Regions from separate parts of the Homo sapiens genome. Here regions 1 and 3 are each linked to region 2. Evidence: promoter capture Hi-C in 16 types of primary human blood cells and fetal thymus (Javierre and others, 2016). All regions are on one chromosome and are shown on one strand. The core of a region is centred on a gene start or on the middle of the fragment in contact, and the rest is flanking DNA. Distances in the headings are between cores, read along the strand shown. Region 1 has its middle 5.2 kb from the start of LINC00028. Region 2 holds the start of DEFB116 (defensin beta 116). Region 3 has its middle 4.7 kb from the start of HM13.

What was found. Contacts are between HindIII fragments. The CHiCAGO score rates a contact against its expected background, and 5 or more counts as called.
Region 1: a contact is called between a fragment that was not itself captured here and the fragment with the promoter of DEFB116 in region 2, in 1 of 17 cell types (M2 macrophages). The highest score is 5.5, in M2 macrophages.
Region 3: a fragment that was not itself captured here is called in contact with the fragment with the promoter of DEFB116 in region 2 in 1 of 17 cell types (erythroblasts); the score reaches 5.2 in erythroblasts.

Annotation. Positions count from the first base shown.
Region 1 is chr20:31,489,633-31,492,332 of GRCh38, reverse strand. No RefSeq gene overlaps it. Among named protein-coding and RNA genes, the nearest start is that of LINC00028, 5.2 kb to the right of the region's middle. The HindIII fragment of the contact is 4,898 bases long and covers 1-2,700 here.
Region 2 is chr20:31,307,217-31,309,916 of GRCh38, reverse strand. DEFB116 (defensin beta 116) reads left to right here and starts at 1,332. Exons shown (of 2, transcript NM_001037731.1): 1 at 1,332-1,398. The coding sequence starts at 1,332. The HindIII fragment of the contact is 2,687 bases long and covers 1-2,177 here.
Region 3 is chr20:31,508,375-31,511,074 of GRCh38, reverse strand. It overlaps the pseudogene CD24P3. Among named protein-coding and RNA genes, the nearest start is that of HM13, 4.7 kb to the left of the region's middle. The HindIII fragment of the contact is 2,650 bases long and covers 90-2,700 here.

The DNA.
Region 1 (2,700 bases), core at 122-2,621, 180 kb before region 2:
CGTGCCCAGGCACCAGGGTTTAAAAAAAAAATCACAATTAGGCCAGGCGTGGTGGCTCATGCCTGTAATCCCAGCACTTTGGGAGGCTGAGGCGGGTGGATCACGAGGTCAGGAGATTGAGACCATCCTGGCTAACACGGTGAAACCCCGTCTCTACTAAAAATACAAAAAAAAAAAAAAATAGCCGGGCGTGGTGGCGGGTGCCTGTAGTCCCAGCTGCTTGGGAGGCTGAGACAGGAGAATGGTGTGAACCCGGGAGGCAGAGCTTGCAGTGAGTCGAGATCACGCCACTGCACTACAGCCTGGGCAACAGAGTGAGACACAGTCTCAAAAAAAAAAAAAAAATAGCCGGGCACGGTGGCAGGTGTCTGTAATCTCAGCTACTCGGGAGGCTGAGGCAGGAGAATCTCTTGAATCCGGGGGGCAGAGGTTGCAGTGAGCCAAGATCGCGCCACTGTACTCCAGCCTGGGTGACAGAGTGAGACTCCATCTCAAAAAACAAACAAACAAAAAAACACAAAATGACAATCAGCAATAATTATTTAAGAATTAGGGCTGGGTGGCCAGGCGCGGTGGCTCATGCCTGTAATCCCAGCACTTTGGGAGGCCGAGGTGAGCAGATCACCTGAGGTCGGGAGTTCGAGACCAGCCTGATCAACATGGAGAAACCCCATCTCTAATAAAAATACAAAAAATTAGCTGGGTGTGGTGGTGCATGCTTGTAGTTCCAGCTACTCGGGAGGCTGAGGTAGGAAAATCGCTTGAACCTGGGAGGTGGAGGTTGCTGTAAGCTGAGATCGCACCATTGCACTCCAGCCTGGGCAACAAGAGCGAATCTCCATCTCAAAAAAAAAAAATAAAAAAGAATTAGGGCTGGGTGAAGTGGCTCACACTTGTAATCCCAGCACTTTGGGAAGCCAAGACGGGAGGATCATTTGAGTCCAGGAGTTTGAAGCCAGCCCGAGCAACATAGAGAGACCCTGACTGTACAAAAAAAGAAAAAAAAAATTAGCTATGCCTGGTGGTGCATGCCTGTGGCCCAGCTACTTGGAGGCTGAGGCAGGAGGATCCCCTGAGCCTGGGAGGTTGAGGCTGCAGTGAGCTGTGATCGCACCACTGCACTCTAGCCTGGGGCAATAGAGTGAGACCCTGCCTCAAAACAAAAGGATTGGGATACTTCACATAAAGATCTGGCTCTCTGCCTTTCTTAGAAAAACTGACATGCGGTATCTGGCAACACTGGGTTCATATTCCAACAGTAGTCACAGGCAGCTTAGTTCGTATCCTCCTTTTAGGCAAGGCAGCTGATTCCAGTTTGCCATAGACTTGATGCTGCCTAATGTCCTCTACCCAGTTGACTTCACTGACTTATATTATTGGTCTGACTCTGTGAGCATTTGAGTTAGTGAATCCTGGTTTCAGTTTTGGAATTAATGTGTGTGCATGTGTATGTGTGTATGTAAGACTCAAAAATTGCTTTCCAGACAATCTTTTTTTTTTTGGAAACATTGTCTTGCTCTGTTGCTCAGGCTGGAGTGCAGTGGTGCAATCTTGGCTTATTGCAACCTCCGCTTCCTTGGTTCAAGGGATTCTCCTGCCTCAGCCTCCCAAGTAGCTAGGATTACAGGCCCGCACCACCGTGTCTCGCTATTTTTTTTTTTTTTTGTATTTTTAGTAGAGACAGGATTTCACCATGTTGGCCAGGCAGGTCTTGAACTCCTGACCTGAGGTGATCTGCCCACTTTGGCCTCCCAAAGTTTCATTCCAGACAATTCTGTGAAAAGGCATCTATCCTCATTCACAGAGTTGGGTAGACCCTGAAGTGGACTGGATTTGGAATGGTCACACTCACTCTGGACTGTTTTGTAAGACTGGAAAAGCTAAGAGCATGCACCCTTGACTGCCTGACTAGAGCACTTGGGGTGTTAACCCAGCTCTAGCTTTTCTTCTTGGTGTGGTCATGTTGTACTTTATGCAAACCCTGATTAACCTAAGCCACTGATTAGTTTGAAGGTGGCCATGTAACCAGATTCTGGCCAGTGAGAACTGGAAGAGTTTCCTTGCTGATGAAAGGGACATGCTGAGGAAGAGACAACCTTTTTGCTTTGCCTGGACCTTGTCATGTCCACGTTTCATGCCTGAAACTGGGGTGGCCATATTGGGACCCTAAGGGTAGCTATCCCAGGGCAAGCTGAGACCCAGAAGATGGCAGAGTGGAAAGATGGAAAGAGGAACTCTCATATTTGTGCTCAAAGAGGCACATGCAATGTTCATAGTGCATTATTTATAGCAGAAAAAAAGCCCATCAAGAGGAAGAAAAGATAAATAAATCTTATATGTTCATACAGTGGAATACTGTGCAGTGATGAAAAAGAATAGTTACAGATTTCAACACAAGGAATCTCATAAATATAATGTTGAATGTGAAAAATAATAAAGCTGAAGGATACATATAGTATGATGTTTAAAAGCATCCAATACTTTGCCTTAGCAAAATATATCTGTGGGAAAAAGTATAAAGTAATGCATGGAAATGCATTACAATTTATTGAGTGCTTACTGAGTGCAAAGCATCATGCTAACAAATAGCCAACCTGATTGAATTCTCACATCGACCCTTAGTGAGAAATACTATTTTTTTTTTTGTTTTTGAGACAGAGTCTTGGTCTGTCGCCCAGGCTGGAGTGCAGGGGCATGATC
Region 2 (2,700 bases), core at 83-2,582:
TACACAAAGGATAAGAAGAAAGGAATCAAAGCATTCTAATATAGAAAATAATCTAATCACAAAGGAAGATAGCAAAAGAGGAAGAAAGGAACAAAGGATGTATAAAATAACCAGAAAAGAATGAACAAAATGGCAAAAGTAAATCCTTACCTATCAATACTTACTTTGAATGTAAATGGATTCAGTTTGCCAATTGAAGGAGTGGCTGAATTGATTTTTTTAAATGACTCAACTGTATTTTGCTTACAAGAGACTCATTTCAGTTTTAAGGAAACACATAGGCTGAAAGTTAAGTGATGGAAAAAGATGTTCCATGGAAAAAGAAACCAGAAAAGAGCAGGAACAGCTTTTCTTACAACAGAAAAAATAGACTTTAGGTAAAAAACCACAAAGTGAGACAAAGAAGGTCATTATATAATAATAAAGGGATCAATTAATTGAGAGATCAGCATGTCCATCACCTCAAATATTTATTATTTATTTGTGATGAGGTCATTTAAAAATCTTTCTTTTAGCTCTTTACATTATTATTAACTATAGATACTGGAGTACTATTCAGCCTTTAAAAAACAGAAAATTCTGTTATTTGCAATCATATGAATGAACCTAGAAGACACTATGTGAAGTGAAATAAAGCAGGCACAGAGAGACACATACCATATGATCTCACTTAGATGTGGAATCTAAAAAAATTGAACTCATAGACGTAGAGATTAGCATGGTTGTTACCAGAGCCTCGAGGGAGGGTGGATGGGGAAAGGGGAGACATTGGTCAATGGGTACAAACTTTCGGTTAGATAGGAGGAATAAGTTCTGGTGTTCTGTGGGCACAGCATGGTGACTACAGTTAAAAATAATTATTTATTTCTTTTTTTACAATTATACTTTAAGTGCTGGGGTACATGTGCAGAACGTGCAGGTTTGTTACATAGGTATACACGTGCCTCACATAGGTATACACGTGCTTATTTCTTATCTAATTGTTTATAAGTTTTTTCAAGTTTGCTTGCTTGCTTGGTTGATTCATTCATTCAAATTCGTTTCACACAAAATGCCAACTGGCTCTAATTTGTCTTTATTTCTTAATGGGAAGAAAGGCCCACACAGACATGAGCACTGCTGGCAAGTCTCCCACGCTTACACAGAGTATCCAGCTCAGATAAGTGATACATGTTGTCCTTCTTCCTGCCTGACATCAGGTATCTCCCATCCCTTTTAGTTCACTGCACAGAACCCTGACGCATTTCCAAAACTAATAAAGGCGGGCTACTGCTCTGCTACAGTGATCTCTGTTTGGTCACCTGCAACACAGCCCTTCATTCTGGTGGAACATGTCAGTCATGAAGCCCTGTTTAATGACCATTGCCATCCTTATGATCCTGGCTCAAAAGACTCCAGGTAACTCAGGCCTCTCTCAAAGGTTCTGGCGTCTTGCATGTGGTACTGGTATCTTGGTGACCTCTGCAGTGACTCCTACTCACATATAGTGGGCAACACCTAAAGCCTTTTCTGGTCTCAGGTGGGTCACAGATGTTATTCCCAAGGTTAATTTCATGTAAAGATCTCCCCTGGTTCTGCTCTGCCAAGACAAATTGAAGAGGTTGTTGATCCTGGCATAGTGGACAGTCTAAGCATGGAACATTTTAGGTAGTGCTGTCATTGGGATGGGGGCTTAATTCATGAGTTAGGTGTGAGAGACTGTGTGCAAGTTGAGGAGCTATAGGAGGGGTATAGCAGTTTGGAGTTGGGTAGGGAGTTGAGGTGGGGAGGTTGTAAGACCTTAGAGATAGGGTAATATCCAAAAAGTGAGTGGGGATGAGCATGGGGTGAATAATTGTATTTATAGGTTGGGCTGAATAGATGTTTTGGTGCATTCTAGAGAGGAAATGGTATTTTTTCTTGAATGGAGCTGGGGTAGAGTTGGTGCAACTGGGAGTTGGGGTATAGAGAGGTTTGTAGCTGGGTTGTGTTTTAGATTGATGCTGTGAATGGGGTTGGGTGGCTTGGATAGTGTTATGTTTGTATGTTTTGCAGTTGGGCTTTTGGTGGTTATTAGAAGAGGTAGGGCTTGAGTTGTAGTTAGTGTTTGCCTAAAGTGGGTATCTTATTCAGTCATGGGTATGTGAGGTTTATCTGGGCAGGGATTGACTTAGCCTGGGTTTGGGGGTGATTAAGCTTGAGTAAGACAGTTGAATTCATCACAGCAGGGTTGTGGCTATTGAAATAAGGAGAATATTGACTCCTTCTCAGATATATGATTTGCAAATATTTTCTCCCATTCCATAGGTTGTTTCTTCATTTTGTAGACTGTTTCCTTTGCTGTGCAGAAACTTTCTAGATTGCTGCAATCCCCTTGTTTATTTTTGCTTTTGTTGCCTGTGCTTTGGTGTCATATCCAGAAAATCCTTCCCAAGGCCAACGTCAAGAAGCTTTTTCTCTATGTTTTCTCCTAGGAGTTTTATAGTTTCAGGTCTTAGATTTAAGTCTTTAATCCATTTTGAATTTGTTTTTGTGTATGGTGTAAGATAAATATCCAATTTTATTATTTTGCATCTAGATACCTAGTTTTCCCAATACATTTATTGAAGAGACTATACTGTCATGAATATGTCCTAGAAATCTACTGTACAACACAGTTCCTATAGTTAACGGTACTGTGTTGGATATTTCAAAAATTACCAAGGGAGTGGATTTTATGTT
Region 3 (2,700 bases), core at 165-2,664, 200 kb before region 2:
AGTATATTGACTGTAACTATACATAGAAGATTCATAGTAACACCTGGAAGTTCCTTCTCATGTTATATATAAATTGAATTATGAAAGCTTTTTATATTACCTGTTTATGGCCTTATAGATTTAATGTACCAAATGAAAACTTCCCACTCTACCTCTAGATAAGATAAAATCTATATTTATTTTCAAGGTAGAGTTTTAAGTGGCCATATTTCTTAAGCCGTATTCAAAGGAAAATTTTATTTCAAGGCACATTTTCACTCTGTCACCCAGGCTGGAACACAATGGCATGATCACAGCTCACTGCAGCCTTGACCTCCTGGGCTCAAGCGACCCTCCCACTTCAGCCTCCCGAGTAGCTGGGACTATAGGCATATACCACCATGCCCAGCTAATTTTTCCATTTTTTATAGAGATGGGGTTTCACCATGTTGCCCAGGCTGGTCTTGAATTCCTGGGCTCAAGCGATCTGCTCACCTTGGCCTCCCAAAGTGCTGGGATTACAGGCATGACTACCATGCCTGGCCACTCAAGGAAATTGTGTCTTAACTAAGTTTGAATGCTGTTCCTCTTCATTTTGTATATGAAACTTCAGCTGATTTAATATTGACATTCATCATCTAGTCAAACCCTTCACATGTTCTTCAAACCAACCAAATTTGGGGTTCTTGACATTTTCTGTGTCAATAAAATTAGATGTGGATCTTATCTTTTTTTTTGAGATGGCGTTTTGTTCTGTCACCCAGGCTGGAGTGCAGTAGTGTGATCTTGGCTCACTGCAACCTCTGTGTCCCGGGCTCAAGCAATTTTCCTGCCTCAGCCTCCTGAGTAGCTGGGACAACAGGCACCCGCCATCACGCCCGGCTAATTTTTGTGTTTTTAGTAGAGATGGGGTTTCACCATGTTGGTCAGGCTGGTCTCAAACTCCTGACCTCGTGATCTGCCCGTCTCGGCCTTCCAAAGTGCTGGGATTACAGGCGTGAGCCACCACGCCCAACCAAGATGTGGATCTTATATTTTATTTTGAGATGGAGTCTCGTTCTTTCGCCCAGGCTGGAGTGCAGTGGCATGATCTCAGCTCACTGCAAGTTCCGCCTCCCGGGTTCATGCCATTCTCCTGCCTCAGCCTCCCAAGTAGCTGGGACTACAGGCACCCGCCACCGTGCCCGGCTAATTTTTTTTTTTTTTTGTATTTTTAGTAGAGACGGGGTTTCACCGTGTTAGCCAGGATGGTCTTGATCTCCTGACCTCATGATCCACCCGCCTCGGCCTCCCAAAGTGCTGGGATTACAGGTGTGAGCCACCACGCCTGGCCTGTATCTTATTTTATCTAGATCTACTAGATTTGATGAAGACTTGTTTTTTCCTTGCCATACTGGCCTTCTAGATGACCTTTGAATTGAATTTAGAAGATGGGAAAGTGTAGACCTGTCTTGGCCTGAGTCTTTTTTTTGAGATAGTTTCACTTTTTTTTTTTTTTTTTTTTGTTTTGAGATGGAGTCTAGCTCTGTTGCCAGGCTGGAGTGCAGTGGCACAATCTCGGCTCACTGCAACCTCCGACTCCCTGGTTCAAGTGATTCTCCTGCCTCAGCCTCCCCAGTAGCTGGGAATACAGGCATGCGCCACCATGCCTGGCTAGTTTTGTATTTTTAGTAGAGACAGGGTTTCTCCATGTTGTTGAGGCTGGTCTTGAACTCCTGACCTCAGGGGATCCACCTGCCGCGGCCTCCCAGAGTGCTGGGATTACAGGCGTGAGCCACCATGCCTGGCCTGGCCTGAGTCTTTTAACAGCAGAGAAGAGGAAGAGAGTGAGACCCTGAGGAGTGAGGGGGGAGACTGGCTGTTGACTGCAGGACACTGTCAATGCCTTATTGGTGGCATTCGCTAGACTTGGGGGCAGCCGTTATTCTGGAAGAAGTTACTTAAAAGTTAGAGCAGTTGTTTGAGCTGTATAAATCTGCATCCGTAGGAGCAGTGCCAGAAGTTGCAGCCCCTGCTGGAGCCTGGCTACCATTGCTCTGCCCATGCCTGCTCCAACCGTGCTGGGTGCATCTCACTTGATGCTGATGCTGGGTGTGTAGAGAACTGCTGGCTCAGGGCAGCTGCAGACAAGGTTGATGCTGCATGACTTCTGAAGCGAGGTCAGAAGAGGCCAAACAAGAAGATAAAATATTTTAGAGGAAATTAAAGAAAAAGGAAATAAGGAAGAAGCCAAACAGCTTCCACCTTGTTCAGTGGAACAATTGCTCAAGGACCTCTGAGCCACTTTTAACAAGTCTGACTGCCCAGAGACTGCCATGTTGTAAGGAAGCCCAAGTCACATGGAGAAGCCATGTGTAGATGCTTCAGTCAGCAATGCCAGCTGAGTCCAGTCTTTTTGTTATCTCAGTCCAGGTGCCAGACATGTGAGTGAAGAGTCCTCCAGATGATCCCAGTCCCCAGCTGCTTGAGTCACACTAAACCATCAAGTCTTCCCAGCTGGGGCTCCAGAGAGCATGGAGCAGAGTCAAGCCATGCCCACAAAGTCCTGTCAAAACTCCTGATCCCCAGAATCAGTAAGTTTGACAAAATAGTTCTTTTGGGAGTTCCTCTTTATGCAGCAATAGATAACCAGAACAACATGTCAGTTATGATTAGGTTTGGCTGGTTGCATGCAACAGAAAACCTCCAAATAACAACAATTTAAAACAGATGAACTTAAAG